5 separate regions of the Homo sapiens genome follow, and all the other regions are linked to region 1. The links are contacts of gene promoters, found by promoter capture Hi-C in blood cells and fetal thymus (Javierre and others, 2016). All regions are on one chromosome and are shown on one strand. The core of a region is centred on a gene start or on the middle of the fragment in contact, and the rest is flanking DNA. Distances in the headings are between cores, read along the strand shown. Region 1 holds the start of FKBP3 (FKBP prolyl isomerase 3). Region 2 has its middle 1.5 kb from the start of KLHDC1. Region 3 holds the start of RPL36AL (ribosomal protein L36a like). Region 4 overlaps LRR1 (leucine rich repeat protein 1). Region 5 has its middle 6.0 kb from the start of RPS29.

Region 1 (2,602 bases), core at 62-2,561:
TAAGCTTCTCAAAATAACCCAGAAATAGTGGCTCACGCCTGTAATCCCAGCACTTTGGGAGGCCGAGGCGGGCGGATCACGAGGTCAGGAGATCGAGACCATCCTGACTAACACGGTGAAATCCCGTCTCTATTAAAAATACAAAAAATTAACCTGGCGTGGTGGCACGCGCCTGTAGTCCTAGCTACTCGAGAGGCAGAGGCAGGAGAATCGTTTGAACCCGGGAGGCGGAGGTTGCAGTGAGCCGAGATCGCGCCACTGCACTCCAGCCTGGGCAACAGAGAGAGACTCCGTCTCAAACAAACAAACAAAAAAACCCAGAAACAGTTTTTCTAAATGAAAAGTTTAGAATTTTAAAAATTGTATAGAAAACACAAGCAGGCTGCCGCTTGTAAGAGAATGCTGCGTGCACAACTATTTCAGCAATTTAACAGGTGCATGAATGAACTTATTTTCCAAAGGAAAAACAAGTGTAACAAAAATAACTTGACTATAGACGGATGGTTAAGATGGAGACTATGCTGACAAATGGAGAGCCTACAGTATAAAGCATTTCAAATAAATTTCTTAGTCTGTTTATAACAATGACAGACCACTGCACAAGAGAAATGTGCATGTAGCTCCCTTAAAGTATAAAGGTGAAAAGGTCATTTAAAGGGTCGATATGTTAAATCAAAACTTAAACCACAACCTACGGATTTTTTAAAAATCACACGCATTAATGTTCAGTATTTAGTAAACTGTTGAGAAAAGCAAGTTGGATACACCGTTCCCACAGAAATCTTCACATCCCTTCCCATTTCCCTAGTAGCCGGCGCCCCGCTCCCAGGAGTCTCATCCACACCACTATTCCTCGGCCTCTCCGCCCTAGCCCCCAATATCCTCGGGTTCCTATTTTTCTGGCCTCCACCCCCACTCAAGGATCCCAATGAGGTTCTAACTCTACAATTGCAGCCTGTGTGCCCCAAGAAATAAAGCTGCTCCCCTGCCCCAGTAGAGAACGCCCGAGAGGCGGGAGCGAGGCACCAAAGCACAAGCTGGGCCTCTCCGGCCTTCCAGGCCACCGGCCGCGGGAAGACGAGGGCGGGGGCACAGAGGAATACGGAATGTATGGGCATCTCCAGGGGGGTGAGGCGTCCCTCAGCCGCACCAGCCCGGCCGCCCCTACGCCTCTGGTACCGAATCTGAACCGTGTTCCTGCAGAAACTTGATAATGTCCTTCTTGGGCAGCTGCTCACTGCGCAGCTGCTCCACGGTCCACGCCCGCTGTGGAACGGCCGCCGCCATCTTCCCCCGCTGCCTCCGCTTTACTGAGCCAGCCCGCCGCAGTTCGGCATCGCCCCGCCCCCTAGGGCGGGGCGGGGCCACTCACGGAGGTCGAGGGGCGGGCCTCTGCTCTAGCAGTCGGGATTGGGGCCTGTCTTTGAGTGACGTCAAGGCTGTGCTATGAGGGCTTCTTTGTTGAGTCCGGGTTGAAAAACCTACCGCGGTCGTCTCTGCAGTCGACTGAGTAGAAGACCGCTAGAGATCTTCGATTCTGAATTAGACACCTTGTGAAGCGACCTCTGATGGTAGCGACATTTATCAACCATTACCCACATTTAAGGCAGCTATGCCTTTAAAGTCCAGTCTATAACCTGTTAAAAGAAAACAGCATTCAGGCTCCTTATCTCGTTTTATCTAGTTCTAGCCTAAAAAGTCACACCTGAAGTGCTTCAGTCCTTGTCGATCCGAAAACCCATATCCCACCATTTCCCTTTTAAAGATCACACAACCGAAACTTAAATACAAACTGCCCATCCCCTTCCCCCCATACAAATACGAGAAAGTTTGTCCAAAACGAAGTTCAGAAACTTTAACAAATAAAACAATTTATAAAGAAGCCGCACTCAGGATGCCACTTGCTGATGAGAATGACATTATTAATGCTCGTAACTCTGTGATGTATATTTTTTTCTCAGTACACGAGGAAACAAATTTACAGAGGTTACTCAAAGTCAGGTTTAGAGAGAAGTCAGGAATTATTTGAGACAGAAATCTTCGTTAGAGTGGAATAATTGCACACCGACGTTTATTATAATGCTCTTACCTATAATAAAGATTTAATAGTTGAACATCAGGACTCCTTACTTAAAAAAATGTAGGCTGACTCTGGGCATGTTGCCTATGAGTTAGCTCTGCTTTGCAAGGAGCATTAAAAAAAAAAATTCTGACGAATAGCTGGACCAGACCACGTTCACTTCCCTTTAAACAATGAAAATATTAAAATAATGGGTTGCCACTCCCAGCGCGGTGAAAAAGAGACTTGGCATTTTGTTTTCTCAGCCCAGATAGAGATATAAGACAAATTATTCCATCTACACATTTTTGCTTTTCACTTTATATTCTGATTTAAAAGTACAAGGAATGAGGCACGTTAGACGCTCAATAACATTAAGTTCCCAAACTGGTGGCTATTCCATTGTCCCCGGGTATGTAATATTTTACAATAAATCTCTATTATAACATTTTAAGTGATTTATCACGTTAGCAATGACGCCCAGCCATCTAATCATTGGAAACGGAACTTAAATTTAGAGTTTGTTAAAACAAAACACCGGAA
Region 2 (2,602 bases), core at 59-2,558, 4.6 Mb after region 1:
CAAGCTCCGCCTCCCGGGTTCACGCCATTCTCCTGCCTCAGCCTCCCGTGTAGCTGGGACTACAGGCGCGCGCCACCATGCCCGGCTAATTTTTGTATTTTTAGTAGAGACGGGGTTTCACCGTGTTAGCCAGGATGGTCTCGATCTCCTGACCTCGTGATCCCCCCGTCTCGGCCTCCCAAAGTGCTGGGATTACAGGCGTGAGCCACCGCGCCCGGCCTATAACCTTGTTTTATGTGTGTTTTTATGTAAAGACATCTTTACATTGTGATTCGTTAACACTGAACTCAGGGCCAAGAGCCCTATAACTCATAGCTGAAGGAAGCTTATTTATCACATGTATTTTCTCCATAAGGCACTCCCACTCTCAAATAATTCAACAAAATGAAAAAGACAGACACACACATACCAACAAACATAAAGCTAGTATGGTAGTATTAATAATTATTAACCTGGAGTGGAAGATACACAGGTACTCTTTGAACTATTTTTTCAACTTTTTTTGGTTTGCTACTTTTTATATTAAGAAATTGGAGAGAAAATAATCAATTCCAGTTGCCCAGCTTTCTCTCACAATCTGACCTCACAATTCCCCTTTTCCCATAAATGTTCCCAATCATAATTCTCTTTCTCTAATAAATTTTCAACTTCTTCTATGGCTCCTTCACCTGGCCAGCTCATAAAGTCCCAATACTTAAATGAACAATTATATGCTGATGACTCCAAAATCCCTATCTCTAGCCCTTAGCTCTCTTAGACTTCAAATCCAACTCAATATGCCTCCAAATGAACTCACCATTAGCCCTGCCCTCCCCCAAACCTGTTCCTCCTCCCATGTTCAATAACCTAGCGAAGGGCTCCACCCACCTCCCACCCAGTGACCAAGCTGGTAAACTAGGCATATCCTTGACTCTTCCCTCTCACGAATGAAAGTTCCTTGAACAACTTCCGTTCATCATTCAGTTCTTAACTTAGACTTTACTTTCTCTCAGGAACCTTCCCTGTCTTCCCTCAATCTGAGTTAAAGGGCCTCTGTACACCCAAGGTGCCCTGGACTTTTGCTATTTTCACACTTACTGCACGGTATGGTAATTGTCTGTTTGCTGGTCTATAGACTCCACCAGACTCTACAGTCCAGGAGGACAAATGCTCCATTTCAAAAATACAATACCAATATTACTAGTAACAATAAAGTGATGGAGTGAGAATTATGATTGACATATAGTTTACACTAAGTAAAATGCACATATCTGTATGCAGTTCAATGCATTTTGATAAATGTATACACCCATGTAACCACCACCTCAATCAAGATACAGAACATTTTAATCACTCCAGAACACTTCCTGTACTCCTTTCCATCAGTCCCCTCCCCCTCCCTACTCCCAAATGACCACTTTTCTGCTTTCTATTATCATAGATCACTTTTGTCTATCTTGAATTTCTTCCTTCCTTCCTCCCTTCCTCCCTCCCTCCCTTCTTCCTTCCCTCCCTTCCTCCTTTTTCTTTCTTTCTCTCTCCCTTTCCCTCTCTCTCTCTTTCTCTCTTTCTTTCTAAGGAACCTTGCTCTGTCGCCCAGACCGGAGTGCAGTGGCGCGATCTCGGTTCACTGCAACCTCCACCTCCCGGGTTAAAGCGATTCTCTTGCCTTTGTAGCTGGGATTACAGGCATGCGCCACCACGCCCGGCTAATTTTTGTATTTTTAGTAGAGACGGGATTGCCCAGGTTGGCCAGGCTGGTCTCAAACTCCTGAGCTCAAGTGATCCGCCTACCTCATCCTCCCAAAGTGCTTAGATGAGAGGCGTGAGCCACTGCAATCCAGTTACATTTGTAAAGTTAAATATGCATTTATCCTCTGACCCAGCAATTCCACATCTAGAACTCTACTCCAAAGATAGGCTTGTACAAATACAAAATAACATATGCATAACGTTTCATCGCAGCATTATTTATGATAGCCAAAAAAACCTGGAAATAACCGATATGTCCATCAATAAGAATCTGTTTGAATAAGCTATGACACATCCAATCGGTGGAGTGCTATGAAGCTATGAAAAGGACTGAGGAGACTGCTTGCTGTATCCTGATATGGATCGTCAAGTGAAAAGAGAAAGTTAAGGAACACTGTATATACTTCCTTTTGTGTAAGAAAAGGAGCAGATACTCTGTTTATTTGTATAGTCAAAAATAAACAATAGAAAGTATCATTAAAGTGCACCAGACTTAAGTGCCTTCTAATGTGATGCAATATGAAGTATTTTCCAAAAAAAAATCTGAACTAGAATCTAATAAAGCTTTTAGATACAGCTTCCAGCCTAAAAGAAGTATGGGGAAAGGATGCACAAGTTAATGAGAAAAGACACTGAGGAACCAAACCCAGAAGGTGGTACGGCTGTAGGAAAATAAGAAAACTAATCCATATAACAAACAAATGGCACAAGAGAGAAGGGAGAGAAGCTATTCTAGAGTAAAACAGACGTAAAGTCTTAAGAGGCGTTAACAACGAATTACGGTGCTGAACAAACCAACTATAGAAAAGACATTTTGAGATAATCAAGGAATCTGACTACAGACTGACTACTAAATGAGGCTGTACTGCCA
Region 3 (2,602 bases), core at 30-2,529, 4.5 Mb after region 1:
ACCTAAAGAACTGAGGCAAGGCCGAGCACGGTGGCTCATGCTTGTAATCCCAGCACTTTGGGAGGCCGAGAAGGGCGGATCACCTGAGGTCCGGAGTTCGAGACCAGCCTGACCAACATGGAGAAACCCCGTCTCTACTAAAAATACAAAATTAGCCTGGCGTGGTGGTGGTGCATACCTGTAAGGAGAATCGCTTGGGCGGGGTGGGGAGGGGCGGAGGTTGCCGTGAGCCGAGATCGCACCATTGCACTCCAGCCTGGGCAACAACAGCGGAATTACGTCTCAAAAAAAAAAAAGAACTGAGGCACAATTCATATAAGTAGAATGTTTATTTGGGGCAAGTTTGAGGATTGCAACCCAGAGCACAGATTCAAAATGCCCTGAGTAGCAGCAGTTGCAAGTGGGTTTTTAGAGGAAAAAATGGCAGTTCCTAAATTGTCTACCAAGAATTTACATTAAAATAACACAAGCGATTGATTGGCTATACATCATTCTTTTCATGACAAATTCCAGGAACGCGGACATAATGGGTGAAGCAGCTAGTCAGGAATAAAATGCCAGGCATTAAGTGGGGAGGTGTCTGAAGTCCCATACTGCTGTCTCTCTGGGCCCGGCAAATTTTGCACATCTCAAATAATTAACAATGCTCCGAGCCATTCTTCTTTTCTCATATAGAACAAGACTCACGAAAACCGACAGCAGCAGCTTTAGGAGGCCCAATACAGTCCGTTTTCCGTACGAAATGAGTTTAATTTATTGTGACTGCTCCAAAAGAAAAGTGCGGTTCATCTAATTTTCTTCCGAAAAGGAAGTTAAGGACCAGAGTTTCTTTGACCCCCTTCCCCCCACCCACCTCCTCCATTTTCCAGCTCTAGAGAATGGCTGGGGCAGCGCGCGACGTTGTAGCTACGGTTACGACCCGCCCCGTTCCTTCTACGAGAACCACATCAGCGTAGTATCACTTTTCCCCTCCGAAGCACAGTCACCCGTCAGCAGCCTCGAGGGCTGACGTGTCCTTATCAAGCCGGCGCGCCCCGCGATTCTATAGCCGCCATGCCTGAGACCTTTTTCCTGAAGGGAGAAGCCTGCTCTCGAACTAAGGCCGGCGAGGGCCATAGGTCTCGCCTTCCCTTTCCTAAGAAGGCCTAGTCCTACCCAGGATTCTGAGCAAGGGAGGCTCCTATTGGAGCCGCTACAGCCTCGTTCTTAGCTTACCGAGAAACAGCGCCCGACACCTGGCCCTTCGCAGCTCTCGCCTTTCGCAGCTCTCGCCTAACAGGAAAGGGAAGAAACAGGCGGAAGTGGGAACTGCACCTGAGCGACAGTACTGCAAACCAATAGGCAGCCGGCCACGGCGGTCAGGCGCCTTCGGTCGCGTCTGGAAAGCACCAACCAACGGTCTAAGGGGCGGGCCGGAGGGGTGTGGGCCGGAGGGCCGCGGTGTGCCGCGGGGCAGTTGCGGGTTGTCATAACGGTCCCCGCCGGAGTGAGGCGAGGCCGCGTCGCTCAGTTCTGGCCGTCTAGGGCCCCTGTAAGGATGAGAGCGCAGAGGACGCAGGGCCGCTGGAGGCGCAGGTAACGAAGCTAGGGTGCGGTTGGGACCGCGGCTGAGCTTTTTCCGGGACCCGTGGTGCTGAATGGAGAGGACGGAGACGAAGCCGAGCCGCGGCTCCTAGCGGCGGCGCCGATGCTCGAGCTGTAGCTGCCAGGCGAGGATGTGTGGAGCGCAGGCGGCGCGGGGTAAATGAGAGGTCTCGGGCCCCAGGACCCCCGGGGCCCGGGATGAGTTAGCGAGGGCAGCCGCGGGGGCCAGTTCCGACCGTGACAGGCCAAGGCGACGGCCGCCGCCCGCCCGCCCCTTCCGTGCAGAAGCAGCTGCTCCTTTCCGCGCCCGCCCGCCTGCGCTCCCGGCCCTGGAGACCATGAGGTTCCGCATCTACAAACGGAAGGTGCTAATCCTGACGCTCGTGGTGGCCGCCTGCGGCTTCGTCCTCTGGAGCAGCAATGGGCGACAAAGGAAGAACGAGGCCCTCGCCCCACCGTTGCTGGACGCCGAACCCGCGCGGGGTGCCGGCGGCCGCGGTGGGGACCACCCCTCTGTGGCTGTGGGCATCCGCAGGGTCTCCAACGTGTCGGCGGCTTCCCTGGTCCCGGCGGTCCCCCAGCCCGAGGCGGACAACCTGACGCTGCGGTACCGGTCCCTGGTGTACCAGCTGAACTTTGATCAGACCCTGAGGAATGTAGATAAGGCTGGCACCTGGGCCCCCCGGGAGCTGGTGCTGGTGGTCCAGGTGCATAACCGGCCCGAATACCTCAGACTGCTGCTGGACTCACTTCGAAAAGCCCAGGGAATTGACAACGTCCTCGTCATCTTTAGCCATGACTTCTGGTCGACCGAGATCAATCAGCTGATCGCCGGGGTGAATTTCTGTCCGGTTCTGCAGGTGTTCTTTCCTTTCAGCATTCAGTTGTACCCTAACGAGTTTCCAGGTAGTGACCCTAGAGATTGTCCCAGAGACCTGCCGAAGAATGCCGCTTTGAAATTGGGGTGCATCAATGCTGAGTATCCCGACTCCTTCGGCCATTATAGAGAGGCCAAATT
Region 4 (2,602 bases), core at 40-2,539, 4.5 Mb after region 1:
TGTGTGGAACAAGGACAGAAACTAGCAAAAGAGATAGGAGCATGCTGCTATGTGGAATGTTCAGCTTTAACCCAGAAGGGATTGAAGACTGTTTTTGATGAGGCTATCATAGCCATTTTAACTCCAAAGAAACACACTGTAAAAAAAAAAGAATAGGATCAAGATGTATAAACTGTTGTTTAATTACGTGAGAAACATCTTCAGTGGCCAAGGAAACTGTCCATTTCTCTCAGAAAGCAAATGAAATGCTGCAGCTATACCCAGACCTTTTATAGGTAATGAAGCAGTTCAAAACTTGAAAGAAAACAAAACCTGTCCTCAGAATTCTGTAAAGTTTATTAAGAATGTTCCTTAAAGATTTAAGAAGCAGTAAGCAGCATCTGAAGCCACAATCTATTATAAATACTTTATTTCAACTAGAAGGTACAATCTCTCAGGGGTTTCATAGTTTAAAAAGCTACAATCACATCATGTTGTAACTACATAAAAAACAGAGCTGTAGATGGAACTGCTTGGCTTTGACCATACACATTTCTGCACAGCCCTTACAGAATCTGCACAAAGAAATATCTCCCTTTTCTCCAGTTAATTGTTCTTGTATGTAAGTTGCTTTCTATTCCAGCATACCCAGAGTGGTGAAATAACAAGGCCAGCCACGTAGCCAAAGGTCGCTCCAAGCGTACAGGAGATGGGCCATACCTGAGGAGAGAATGTATGAGATCAAAAAAGAACAAATGTTTTATTACTTGAGCACAAGTGTAACCTAAATATTTCTATATTAAAGCTTAATGTGCTTTCTTAAAAAAAATCAGGTCACAGCATCCTGCACTTGCCTTGTCTTGATATTTGTTATGCTTATAAGTACTTGTTTAATAACTATCTCTCATCAGATTGTCAACTCTTTAAGTGTAGTTACCCTGTCAGTCTTATTCATTGCTATGTCCCAAGCCCCTATTAGAGTACCTGGTACATAGTGGGTTCTGAATCAATAGTTGTTGAAATCTAAAGCAGATGCAACAGCAATCATTAATTTTTTTTAAATTTTAAATATGCCATTTATATAGATGATAATCATTAAATTTTTTTTGAGCACTCATTATGTGTCAGTCATCGTTCTAGCACTCAGGATAGAATAGCAAAGGAGACAAGATTCCTGCTCTCATGGAGTTTGTATATAACCTACTGGGAGGTGTGCCCACCCCAGGCTAATGGACTGAAGTTATGAAGGCAAGTAACTGCTATTGGCAACTCTTCCTACAGTTACATAGTTGGAATGGGAGAAAAGGAGCATTCTCTCAAAACATGGTGATCCTGTTCTCAAAGGAGAGTTACTGGACAGACAGAGCAGTAACATCCACCACCAGCTAGATGAGGAGTATAACTTCCCAACTGCTAAAAAAAAAAAAAAAAAAAAAAACTTTAAAACTTGGCCACGCGCCGTGGCTCATGCCTGTAATCCCAGCACTTTGGTAGGCCCAGGCAGGCAGATCACTTGAGGCCAGGAGTTCTAGACCAGCTTGGCCAACATGATGAAACCGTGTTTCTACTAAAAATACAAAAATTAGCCGGGCATGGTGGCACGCACCTGTAATCCGAGCTACTCAGGAGGCTGAGTCATGGGAATTGCTTGAACCTGGGAAGTGGAGGTTGCAGTGATGGCACCACTTCACTCCATCCTGGGTGAGAGTGAGTGAGACTCTGTCTCAAAAAAAAACAACTTTTTTTTTTTTTTTTTTTTTTTTTTTGAGAAGGAGTCTCTTTCTGTTGCCCAGCCTGGAGTGCAGTGGCGTGATAAAAAGCTTTAAAACTTAAAATGAAAACACTCAGACTCAAGGACTAAAAGCCAAACCAAAGCCTGGCAAAGTAACTGGCACATTCTAGTTGTAATAAATGTTACTGAGTAACAATAATTAGTTTTCTTCTTTTTTTTCTATTGGTTTTATGCAGCTAAGGGAGAACATTGAGCAATTCTTCACCAAATTTGTAGATGAGGGGAAAGCCACTGTTCGGTTAAAGGAGCCTCCTGTGGATATCTGTCTAAGTAAGGTATGGTATTAAAAACATTAATGATTAATATTTGGCTGTATTTTCTTTATTTTTTAGAAACAGAGTCTTGTTCTGTCACCCAAGCTGAAGTACAGAGGCATAGTCATAGCTCACTGCATCAAACACCTAGGCTCAAGCGAGCCTCCTGAATATCTGGGACTAAAGGTGTACCTCACCACTCCCGGATAAATTTTTAAAATAACTTTTTGTAGAGACGGAGTCTTGATATGATGTTGCCCAGACTGGCCTTGAACTCCTGGCCTCAAGCGATCCTCTTGCCTCAGCCTCCCAAAGTGTTGGGATTATAAGCATGAGCCACCATACTTGGCCTGGCGTGTATTTGCTTGCTTGCTTGCTTTTTTTGTTTGTTTGTTTGTTTGTTTTGAGACGGAGTTTTGCTCTTGCTGCCCAGGCTGGAGTGTAGTGGCACGATCTCAGCTCACTGCAACCTCCATCTCCCGGGTTCAAACAATTCTCCTGCCTCAGCCTCCCGAGTAGCTGGGATTACAGACACCCACCACCATGCGTGGCTGATTTTTTTTTTTTTTTTATCTTT
Region 5 (2,602 bases), core at 59-2,558, 4.4 Mb after region 1:
ATGTTTATGTCCCCCATAAAATCCACATGATGAAACCCTAGCCTGTGGGTTGTAGGAGGTGGGGCATTTTGGAAAGAGATTAGGTCATGAGAGGTCAACCCTCATGGGAGTAGTTCCCTTATAAAATAAGCCCAAGAAAGCTCATTTGCCCTATCCACCATGTAAGGACACAATGAGAAGGCACCATTTATGAGTCAGGAAACAGCTCTCACCAGACATGAAATCTACCAGCACCTTGATCTCAGACTTCCTAGCCTCCAGAACTGTGAGAAATAAATGTCTGTTATTTAAGCCACTCAGTCTACTGGATTTTGTTACAGTGGCCCAAAGACACTAAGACAGAATCCAAACCTAAGAATATATCCTCTGCCAGAGTGGTGGCTCACACATGTAGTCCTAGCATTTTGGGAGACCAAGGCAAGAGGATCACTTGAGGCCAGGAGTATAAGACCAACCTGGGCAACACTGCAAGACCCTGTCTCTACAATAAATTTTGAAAAACAAAGAATAGATCCTCTATGTTCCAATGGTTGTTTGGGCCTCTCCTATAGCACCTACCATCTTTTGCCATCAACACTTATTGAGCTTTTACTAAGTAATTTAGTTCAATTCCCCAACAAATGAGGACCTATTAATCTACAAGGCATCTTGCTATGTGCTTGGTATGCATGTAAATATGAAAGGAAACACTTACTCCTGCCCTCAAGTAACTAAGTGATCTTTGGGAATAAGAGATGCATAGTCCTCTAACCATACAATAAGTGTGTTGTGAATATTAAGAGCATAGGCACTGATTTCAGACAGACCCAGTTCCAGTCGTTTTGTCTCTTTCTTTGGGAGACCTTGGGGAAATTACTTAATCTCTAAGCCTCAGTTTCCTTGGCTATGTAATGATGATAATACCTGCTGAAAAGTACTCTAAGACTGGAAAAAGGCAATGTGCATAAAGCACTTAGACCACCTATCCACAGCAGCCTTCCCACTCACTACCACCATGTATACACAGGGATAGGACTGTCTAGGGAGTGTTTCCCTTCCATTACCTAAGGCACTGCACGTCTCTTACAGAATTTATACCAGGCCATCACACTGGACCAGAGCCCAGCCCATCCAAGAGACTCTCATGACCAAATCAAACACATATCACACCCTTTTTGACCTAACTCACCACTACATATGTAAGCTTCTCTCATCATCTCCCAAACTTTTTTACATTTGCTTAGCTGACACAGCTTCTCATCCACTCTATCTGCAATACCAGCTCATCCCATTACCAATAAATCTTTTCTACATCCTCAACCTCATCTCCCAATATTCTTCCCACCTCCTTACCCAGACTGAAACCTGGCTCTTTCCTAGACACTTCCCCAACACCAACTTTATCATCACATACACCTGGGGTTCAGGGTTAGGAGCACAGGTGGATTTACTATGAAGCTTATGAAACTTAAACTCCAGTATCCCTAACTTCTACAAGCTCCTTCTAAGGCAAGTATACTAGGAATGTGTTCAATCACATGTTTTCAAAAAATTGGCGGCCAGGAGCGATGGCTCATGCCTGTAATCCTAGCACTTTGGGAGGCTGAGGTGGGTGGATCACCTGAGGTCAGGAGTTCAAAAGCAGCCTGGCCAACATGGTGAAACCCTGCCTCTACTAAAAATACAAAAAATCAGCCAGGCGTGGTGGCAGACCTGTACAGGCACACCTGTAATCCCAGCTACCTGGCAGGCTGAGGCAGGAGAATCGCCTGAACCCGGGAGGCAGAGGTTGCAGTGAGCTGAAATCATGCCACTGCACTCCAGCCTGGGTGACATAGCAAGACTCCGTCTCAAAAGAAAAAAAAAAAAAATGCTGGGTGCGGTGGCTCACGCCTGTAATCCCAGCACTTTGGGAGGCCAAGGTAGGCAGATCACCTGAGGTCTGGAGTTCGAGAACAGCCATTGGCCGGCATGGAGAAACCCCATCTCTACTAAAAATACAAAATGAGCCGGGCATGGTGGCGCATGCCTGTAATCCCAGCTACTCAGGAGGCTGAGGCAGGAGAATTGCTTGAACCTGGGAGGCGGAGGTTGCAGTGAGCCAAGATCAAGCCACTGCAGCACTCCAGCCTGGGCAACATGAGCAAAACTCTATCTCAAAAAAAAAAGAAAAAAAAATTGGCAAAGATAATTTAGCTGCAACCAGTTAAGATGCTCTTTCCATTCCAGCTTCCCTTCTGTCACACTTCCCCTCCTCTCAGATAAAACTGGGGTTACCAATTCTGTCTTAATCAAAGGCACACAATACAGTTGATCACTCACGTCACTGCTTAAAACAGATTCTACTTGGATGTCTAAGACAAGTCTCAAAGTCAACATGTCCAAATTGAACTTTCTATTCTTCCCAAACCTGGAAAGGCCTATCTCAACAGCAATTCTATCCTTCCAGTTGCTCAGGCCAAAATCCTTGGAGTCATTCTTAGACTGGGTCTCATTCTGTTGCCCAGAGTGCAGTGGCACAAGCCTCCCAAGTAGCTAGGCGTGCACAACCACACCCGGCTAATTTTCTCTTTTAAATTTTTGCTATTCTCCCGCCTAGGCCTCCCCAAGTGCTGGGAATACA

The links. The method cuts DNA at HindIII sites, captures the fragments that hold promoters and counts their contacts. A CHiCAGO score of 5 or more calls a contact.
Region 2: a contact is called between a fragment that was not itself captured here and the fragment with the promoter of FKBP3 in region 1, in 1 of 17 cell types (fetal thymus). The highest score is 7.8, in fetal thymus.
Region 3: the fragment with the promoter of RPL36AL here is called in contact with the fragment with the promoter of FKBP3 in region 1 in 1 of 17 cell types (total B cells); the score reaches 5.0 in total B cells.
Region 4: a contact is called between a fragment that was not itself captured here and the fragment with the promoter of FKBP3 in region 1, in 1 of 17 cell types (naive B cells). The highest score is 6.1, in naive B cells.
Region 5: a contact is called between a fragment that was not itself captured here and the fragment with the promoter of FKBP3 in region 1, in 2 of 17 cell types (naive B cells and total B cells). The highest score is 5.7, in naive B cells.

Annotation. Positions count from the first base shown.
Region 1 is chr14:45,133,170-45,135,771 of GRCh38, forward strand. FKBP3 (FKBP prolyl isomerase 3) reads right to left here and starts at 1,312. Exons shown (of 7, transcript NM_002013.4): 1 at 1,180-1,312. The coding sequence starts at 1,287. RefSeq lists enhancers at 510-1,381, 1,069-1,288, 1,382-2,252 and a silencer at 1,258-1,435. The HindIII fragment of the contact is 3,907 bases long and covers 3-2,602 here.
Region 2 is chr14:49,690,319-49,692,920 of GRCh38, forward strand. No RefSeq gene overlaps it. Among named protein-coding and RNA genes, the nearest start is that of KLHDC1, 1.5 kb to the right of the region's middle. The HindIII fragment of the contact is 1,970 bases long and covers 324-2,293 here.
Region 3 is chr14:49,619,347-49,621,948 of GRCh38, forward strand. It overlaps RPL36AL (ribosomal protein L36a like), which reads right to left and starts at 1,280. Exons shown (of 2, transcript NM_001001.5): 1 at 1,216-1,280. It overlaps MGAT2 (alpha-1,6-mannosyl-glycoprotein 2-beta-N-acetylglucosaminyltransferase), which reads left to right and starts at 1,453. Exons shown (of 1, transcript NM_002408.4): 1 at 1,453-2,602. The coding sequence starts at 1,923. RefSeq lists enhancers at 1,055-1,164, 1,553-2,103 and silencers at 1,325-1,534, 1,835-1,944. The HindIII fragment of the contact is 17,089 bases long and covers 1-2,602 here.
Region 4 is chr14:49,600,423-49,603,024 of GRCh38, forward strand. LRR1 (leucine rich repeat protein 1) reads left to right here. Exons shown (of 4, transcript NM_152329.4): 2 at 1,948-2,046. It also overlaps the pseudogene RHOQP1. Among named protein-coding and RNA genes, the nearest start is that of LRR1, 2.8 kb to the left of the region's middle. The HindIII fragment of the contact is 1,015 bases long and covers 783-1,797 here.
Region 5 is chr14:49,579,054-49,581,655 of GRCh38, forward strand. It overlaps a transcript of RPS29 not described here. Among named protein-coding and RNA genes, the nearest start is that of RPS29, 6.0 kb to the right of the region's middle. RefSeq lists an enhancer at 2,521-2,602. The HindIII fragment of the contact is 254 bases long and covers 1,182-1,435 here.